Regions from separate parts of the Homo sapiens genome. Here region 1 is linked to region 2. The links are contacts of gene promoters, found by promoter capture Hi-C in blood cells and fetal thymus (Javierre and others, 2016). All regions are on one chromosome and are shown on one strand. The core of a region is centred on a gene start or on the middle of the fragment in contact, and the rest is flanking DNA. Distances in the headings are between cores, read along the strand shown. Region 1 holds the start of ME3 (malic enzyme 3). Region 2 holds the start of DLG2 (discs large MAGUK scaffold protein 2).

The links. Contacts are between HindIII fragments. The CHiCAGO score rates a contact against its expected background, and 5 or more counts as called.
Region 1: a contact is called between the fragment with the promoter of ME3 here and the fragment with the promoter of DLG2 in region 2, in 1 of 17 cell types (monocytes). The highest score is 7.4, in monocytes.

Annotation. Positions count from the first base shown.
Region 1 is chr11:86,670,318-86,674,362 of GRCh38, reverse strand. ME3 (malic enzyme 3) reads left to right here and starts at 1,747. Exons shown (of 15, transcript NM_001161586.3): 1 at 1,747-2,039; 2 at 2,405-2,601. The coding sequence starts at 2,419. The HindIII fragment of the contact is 7,449 bases long and covers 864-4,045 here.
Region 2 is chr11:85,624,916-85,628,593 of GRCh38, reverse strand. It overlaps DLG2 (discs large MAGUK scaffold protein 2), which reads left to right and starts at 1,250. Exons shown (of 28, transcript NM_001142699.3): 1 at 1,250-1,376; 2 at 1,841-2,007. It overlaps TMEM126B (transmembrane protein 126B), which reads right to left and starts at 1. Exons shown (of 5, transcript NM_018480.7): 1 at 1. RefSeq lists enhancers at 204-393, 534-583, 664-823, 696-1,204 and a silencer at 3,143-3,343. The HindIII fragment of the contact is 9,013 bases long and covers 1-3,678 here.

The DNA.
Region 1 (4,045 bases), core at 498-2,997, 1.0 Mb before region 2:
GATGCTATAAAAATTATGTTCGCTTGTTTGGAAACCTTTGTTGTTTACATCCTGGTTTCAAATGACTAAAGTTACCTATTAGATATCCTCCAGGGGAGGGAAAGGTCATTGTATTCAGCAAGGGCAAACTGGTTCAACAATCAATTTCCAAATATTTGCATGCACTAGATACCAAAGATGGAAACACACATGATCTCTGCCCCCCAAAGATGTTGACTGGTGGGAAGAAGTGCCAATATAAAAATAGTGTTGAAAGGATTTAGTTAATACTATTGGTTGCACACAATCACACATCTGACACAAACTGGTTTAAGGCAGAAAAAAAGATCATTTATAAGCTTATGTAAATATGCAGTCCAAGAGTAAACCTGACTTCAGGGATGTAAACCCTACTGGATGAGAATCTTCATGGATGGGGCCTGGAAAGCTGTATTTTTGCCCCATCCTTATTTCCTACCAGGTAATTGTAATTCTGTTTTGGAAATAACTATTTTACGTAGATCATTCAAGTTGAAAATTAGATATTACACAGGGAGGAGAGAGACTGCAGGAGGAGACGATTATTCCTGAAGGGATGAGGGAATCCTGAACTCAGGCAGGAGCACCCCTTAGCACATTATGGGCCATGATGTCTGCTTGGTACTTACAACGGGGCTAATGCTGGCACCGGGAGCTTTGAAGGGGTGTCAGCAGAGGACCGTGCCAACTGTCTGTCAGTAAGTCTAAGGGTTCACGATCCTTATGAAAGTGGCTGCCACTTCCCTTCACCTAACAACTATTTATTGTGCAACTACATACCAGGCAGTGAGCTAGGCAGTGAGGACACACAGGTTCACAGGCAAAGAGCCTCTCTTCATGAAGCTTACATTCTAGACAGGAGATAGTCAGTAAACAATCAGAAAAACAAGCGCGCTACTGACTGTGTTAAGTTCTCTAAAGAGAAAAACCCCTTCACTCTATAGTTCCTAGTGCAGGCTGACATTGAATGGGATAGAGGAAAGGCCTTCGAGTTGACAACTTAGTGGAGAACTGAGAGGTGGGAATGAAGTAGTGGTTTGCAAGGCTGGAGTATGAGCCTTCCAAGGAGAGGCAATAGCAAGTGCAAAGGCCCTGCAGTGGGAGGGAACCAAGTGGGGTGAAGACACAGGAAGGATCAAGTATGGCCAGAGATCAGTGAGAAGGAAAGAGTAGAGTAGGATAAGTCTGAAGAGGCTGGCAAGAGCCAGTTTATGGGAAATCTTGTAGGCCCTGAAAGTTTGGATTTTATTCCACACACAACAAAGTGTTTGCTTTAAAAGGAATCTCCTGACTACTGTGTGGAGAAAGTATAAAATTAAGTTTGGGGCTAGATGGACCCCAAGATCCCTGTCTGGCCCCAATAACCCATGGCAAACTCCATGGGGTCCTCAGAAGTCCTCTTAGTAACTGTGGCTCCTATGTCAATGATGCTTAATAGAAGTATCCGCAAAAACAGAAATGTTCTGTATCTGCATACAAGTGGCTCTTGAACTGGAAATGTGGCTAGCGTGACTGCAGAACTGGATGTTAAATTTTATTCTATATAGACTAATTTATTTACGTTTATATAGCCACACGTGGCGAATGGCTATTATATTGGACAGCACAAGGCAACACTGAGCACCGAATGCCTGAGGATTTCTACTCCAAATCCTGAAGGCACGCCCTTCCCCGAATGTTGGGAGAGTGCGAGGATATGCTGACCCCCAAACGCAAATCCCCCTCTGTGCATTTAGTCTTGCCAAGATGGAGAGTCTCAGGCGGGCATTCTGAGCTGCTTCTTGTCACTGGGGAAAACCACGTGCACGCAGTGCTGAGGCGCCCCACGCGCGTCCTCAGGGGAAGCCAGGCACTGAGAACAAAGGTTGTGGGACCGCTCTTTGAGGAACTCACCAGCTCCGCGAGCTCGCGGCCGCCAGCGCGGTCCACCCATTGGCGGGAGAGGACTCACAGACCGCAGCTCCTCACCCCGCCTGCTCCGCAGCGGGACCGCGTAGACCTCAGCTCCCCGAGCAGCGCAGGTGGGCCAGGGAAGGAGAGGACCGAGGCAAGCCACCACGCGGGATTAGGGGTACGGGGACCCCTCGCCGCGCAGTCGCCTCTTTTTCACAGGGATGGGGGCAGGGGTGGCGCCGGCTGTCACCCGCACCGGATCTGCTTCCAGGGCTTGGTTTCGCTTTGCCTGGCTCTTGGCTAGGCCTGGCGCCCCGCGCGGAGCCGAGCAGGTGGCAGCCGAGGAGTGGCGGGGGCTGGAACATTTAACCCTTTGGGAGCACCTGCCCTCTCCCAGAGGGCGCGTCCCCGGATCAGGCCCGGTGCCCCGCAGCGCGCGTGGGTCCTGGCTGGCTGGAAGGAGGCCCTGACCTTGCTTTCTCTCCCGTGCCAGGTCTGCCAAGGACCATGGGTGCCGCGCTGGGGACAGGCACGCGGCTGGCTCCCTGGCCGGGCCGGGCCTGCGGCGCCCTCCCGCGCTGGACACCCACCGCGCCCGCCCAAGGCTGCCACTCCAAGCCTGGCCCGGCGCGCCCTGTGCCCCTGAAGAAGCGCGGATACGATGTCACCAGGAACCCTCATCTCAACAAGGTAATGGGCCAGAGGGCAGGACGGCCCGCGTTGCGATCCCGTGGCTGCCGGAAAATTGCGCCCCGCCCCCTGGACCCAGAAAGGATCCTCCCGGGCGCCCTTCCAGCGGTTTTTCTGTTTTTGCCTTGCAGGGGCTTGTTGTGACTTGGTTTGGCTTTCTTGTCCCTCCTCTCCCTTTTATGCGTGGAGAGAGGCGACCAGTAATGCAGGGAGCCTAATTTCTTCTGCAGTAACAACACAGACCAGGTTTAGATCCTCGCGGTCAGTCTGACCTGCGGTCAGCTCTCCCCTTGATGCTTACTAATTTTATTGGTCTTGGGCAGTTCATTTAACCTACATGAGCCTAGGTTTCCTTATCTGTAAAAGAGATATAATTGTCTTAGGAATGTCGTGAGATCTAAAGAGAAAATGCGGGTAGAAAATGGGGGTACGTTAGAACAGTGCCTGGTACCCAGTGGGAGAATAAATAAGGTTATGATTATTATTCTGAGAAAAAGATTAATTTGAGAGCAAGGATGGAAAAGTCTAGACTTATAGAAATTTTCGAGCTTGCAGGAGCATTAGAGATCCTAGTTTAAACCTCTTCTTTTACAAAAAACAAGACAAAGGAAACTTGCCCAAGGTCACCAGCTAGTTAGTTCTGGCTCTGCCACTGGAATCCAGATCTCCAATGCTTTGGTCGAGTTCAACCCACCGCTAGCTCTTTTGTATTTGTTTTTGGGAATAGAGTTTAGTATCTTTGGTTCAGAGGATTGGGTGAGAGAAATAGAAGCAAGGACAGATTTAGTCCTGTCTCCCCCTACCTCCTCAAATTAACTCACATATCTCATTTAACTTATCTGAGGCCCAACTTTCTCCAGCCTAAAATAGATATTATGATAGACCCACCATTTCTATCTCATTTGGTTATTGTGACAATAAAATGAATCACTGAACTTGAAATCATATTTTAAACTGTATAAAGTGCTGAATAACAATTACTGCAAAATAAATTTTTTTTTCATAATTGCTCTGACTCTGGATTGTGAAATTCAGGTGAGGCAGTCTGTATGGAAAAGATGTTTTTGAGAAGTAGGAACAACTATATAATGTGAAGTATTGTGACTGTTTCCTACAGAACTAATAGAAGCGGCTAAGGAAAAAAAAATCAAAATCAACCTCTATCACATTGGAGTCCTGCTCTTTCCAAAAGAAACCTTAAATTGTTTGGACGCTACCACTTTCCAAAGTGTTCAAGGTGTTTGTTATCACCTTGAATTACTTTGCTAGTAAGCGTTAGAAAATACAAACTGGCTTAAGCACACAAAGGCTCCTTTATCTAAAGAATCTAGAGGAAGGGTTGCAGGCACGGCTTGAACCACAAGCCCAGATGGCATTGCTCAAGATGCAGATTCTCTCTGGCTCTCTACTCTGCCTCTCTGCAAGGTCAGTTTCATCCTCAAGC
Region 2 (3,678 bases), core at 1-2,500:
TGACTTGCCGGTGGGCGGGGACCCAGAACGCCCTGGGCGGGAAGTGGTGCTGATTTACGGCTCAACGCCTCTCGATTGCAGCCCGGGCCCGCCCCCACTCAGTCAAAAGCCGCGCCCTCCATCCTGACTGTGATTGGGCGCGGCGTCTAGAAATTACGGCCACTTATTCGCTTAGAGGAGGTCCAGGCGCCTGTGGGCCTGCCCCCCTCGCCAGCCGAGTATTTCCTTCCCTGACTATTTATCAGCTTAGCTCCCTGATCTCTTCGCGTCCTGCGGGAAAGATGGGGCGGCCCGAATGTTGTAATGTTACTGCGCTCCTGCCTCTCCTCAGGGCAGCTGGGAACTAGCTGCCTGCCCCTTTCAGTCCTTGAGGGAACTCGCCCCTTTGCCCTGGCCTGTGTGGTGTTAAAGCTCTGTTTCTCGGGCACCTCCTCCTCCAAACCCCGGACCAGCCGCCCAGCGCCGTCAGAGCAGCCCCGACTAGCCTCCTCTCCTCTCAGCCGTCTGACTCCTCTCCCCAGTCTGTAGTCCCCTCAATTTGCATCCTTTAGCCCCGCTTGGAAAGAGACCGGAGAGAAATTTGCCCACTACCCCCGCGAGAAGACCCACTTGTCAGCCGTGTCTCGGGGTGGGGGGCACTGCAAGGCCTGGCGCTGTTTTGTGCACGTTAAATGCCCAGCAGTATCTCCCAGACCGGCAACCCCCGACCCTCCAGTCTCCATGTCTTACAGAAGCCAAATTCGAGAGTTATATAATTTCTAGTGCTGCTGTTGCTCCTGCCTGAGGAAACACTTCATCGCGTGGAGGGTGCAGGACATTTCAGTGCTCTTCCCTAAAAGAACGGGGCTTGGGCAGGGGTGGCCAGCGGTGGCAAAGAAATGTCTTGTCTTTTCTGCAAAAGGAAGGTGGGTAGTTTGAAGAGAGATTGAGAGAAAAGGTGGATGTGAAAGCCAAGCAGCTGCACTTTCTCATTTAGGAAATCGCGGACCGTTTACATAGCTTATGCTTACATGTCTAATACTACTACGGCGTCTCTGAAAACACCTTTGGGGGAAGGTTTGGCTTCTCTCGAAGTCTCAGTGTTTTTCCTCGCCGGATAGGGAGCTGCTTGAATGCGAAGAGATGGCATGATGTGAATGACTCCAGTGTGAAGAAATCTGCTTCGCCAACTCATCCTGCATCAAGTGCCCATTGAGTAGCACTGTCACTTTAATGTCTCCATGCCAAGGGATTGCTTTCCTTTTTTTTCAATCCTCTCGGTTAATACATGGGAGGATCAGAATCAGAGGGGCATTAAGGATCAAGCCTGGGGGCTTGGAGAGCACAGAAGAAAAAAATGAAAGGGACAGCAAGCTGGATTCTGAGTTACTGAGGGGGTGAGATCCGGAACTTCTGATCAGTAAATATAAGGGGGCCTTTCAATGTGTGTTCTGCCACAGAAAACTGTTCAAACTCACCTATCTTTTTAGAGACTGGAGTCAAAGAGATTTTTAAAAGTATTTTTGGGGAGGTGGGGTTACATTTTTCTCTACAGATTTGAGTATCTTTATCATCATCTTTGAATTTGACCATGTATAAAGTAATGAGACCTGTCTAAATTTGGTTTGTGCCTTAATTGAGTTAGTCATTGAACTTCCAAAAATGTTGCTGCCTGAAGAGGAATTTCAGTAACGTTCTTCATGTTTACAATAATTTTCCCAGTTTGTAAAAACAGTCTAAATATTTTCTGAAAATTGAAAAACTTGAAAAACTAAAAAATTACGTTGCTGTAAACTCTGTGGGCGGTGTAAAAAGTTTAGTTGTGGAAAAAATACATCATTATTTTCTTTGTCTGACATAGAAGACTCAGCCTGGATTTCAAAACTGAACACTGAAGTGGTTTGCAACAGTTACCTGGCTCTTGGCCTCAATCCAGCTGGATCAAACTGAGACCTGAAAAGAGATATTGACTCCTGTGGCAGTGGAAAGACCCAAGAATGCCAGTCAAGAAGACAGGTGGGCCATAAGGTTGCTATATAATATTTCTCCCTTTTGTTGGTTCTGGTACTTGTAATTTAAATTATATTCCATTTGAGAGTAAAGTTTTGCTTCAGTTTGGGGGAAATATTTATTGTAATATAGTTTCAGTGGTACATAATTCAGTAATATTATTTTACTAAAGTAAAAGGAAGCAAGACTATAGTATTTATTGATAGATATTTATGATTTCATAAATCAGGTTGTTTATATCACCGTTGGTAATAAGAATAGATTCAGTACCGCAGATTTGGAGTCTCCTTTAGCTTGTTTTCTTAGCTTGTTGAAGGTTACTTTTAAGCAGTCTTTAAAAAAGAAACTTGTGCAGTGGAGCTCTTCCTCATGGGTTTAATATTTATCAAACTAATTACAGAATTGTGAAAGGTAGCAAAGTAATTTCATTTGCACTGAACAAAATTACAGCTTTATAATTTATCTTTTGGTTAAAAAATAGACTTATTATTTGGATTTATTCTAGTGTAAATCTTCACTTTTGTGATAAAGCACAACTTTCGTGACTATTGTGCTTTTCCAGATATATGCATTATCCAATAACATGATTGTCAAGTTCCCCAAATGGGGCAAACACCTGTTTTTTTCCTCCCTCCTCAACAACTTTTATTATTGGAATTGATCAAGATCTAGTGAATTCCTGAAGCATAGTTGATTATATTCTGAACTTGGGGATTCAGTTTAGCTTAGATGCACCCCAGGTTAACTTTGTTCCAAAGGATCCTAGTTTGGGACTGTTTTTGTTTTGTTTTGTTTTGACATTATATGGAAGGTGAGATCAACTGTAAAGAGTTTCTCAAGAGTTTTGAATCAAAACTTATATGAACAGCCTTGAACTCTGCTATACTGGACTAATATAGATCCAAATGTTGTCCAGTTATGTGAGTTGCTACAATCTGAAACTAAAGCTCTGGGTGAATTGCAGGTTAAAGTGGAACTTATCTCTGCATGGTGTTTAATTCTTCTACCTGTGGATTTGTTAGGGATGTTGAGGAAACTTATAATCACTGAGATGCCTTATCCAAGCTGATATTTGTAGAGATGGACAATGATATATAAAACTTTTGGAACACCTAGAACTGTGATATTTGCACACTGGGATTTAAGATTGGGATTGTTTCCTCCCCCTGCTGTTTCTAATAATACCACTGACAGAAGTAAACTGCCTGAGATTTTGGAGCCACACTTGTCCAGACCAGACACAATTGGTTTATCTAGAACAAGAATGGTTTTGGGAATGTAGCCAATAAATGATATGGCTCTTTGACATATTTAAGTTGATGTGTGTTTTTATTCTTTCTACCATTTCTCTAGAGAGTTTCTTTTGGATTACCTTATTTTGAACTAATAATGGAATTAAACACATTACGTGTGTGTGTGAGAGAGAGAGAGACAGAGAGGAAAAGAGTGAAAGGAAGAGAGAATGGGAAGGAGGAGAGACAGAGAAAGAGATAAAAAGGTATGTGGGAAGGAAGAGGAGGAAGGTCAATTGATATTCTAGGTATAACTTAACTAAGCAGGTTTAGTTAGAAAGTTTAGAACTTAATGTTTCTAAACCCCATAAACCGAGTTTCTTAAAAGTTCTTCCCTTTAAAGAACTGTTACAGAAATTGCTGATACATTGGTGAAATTATAATACTTTAGAAGAAT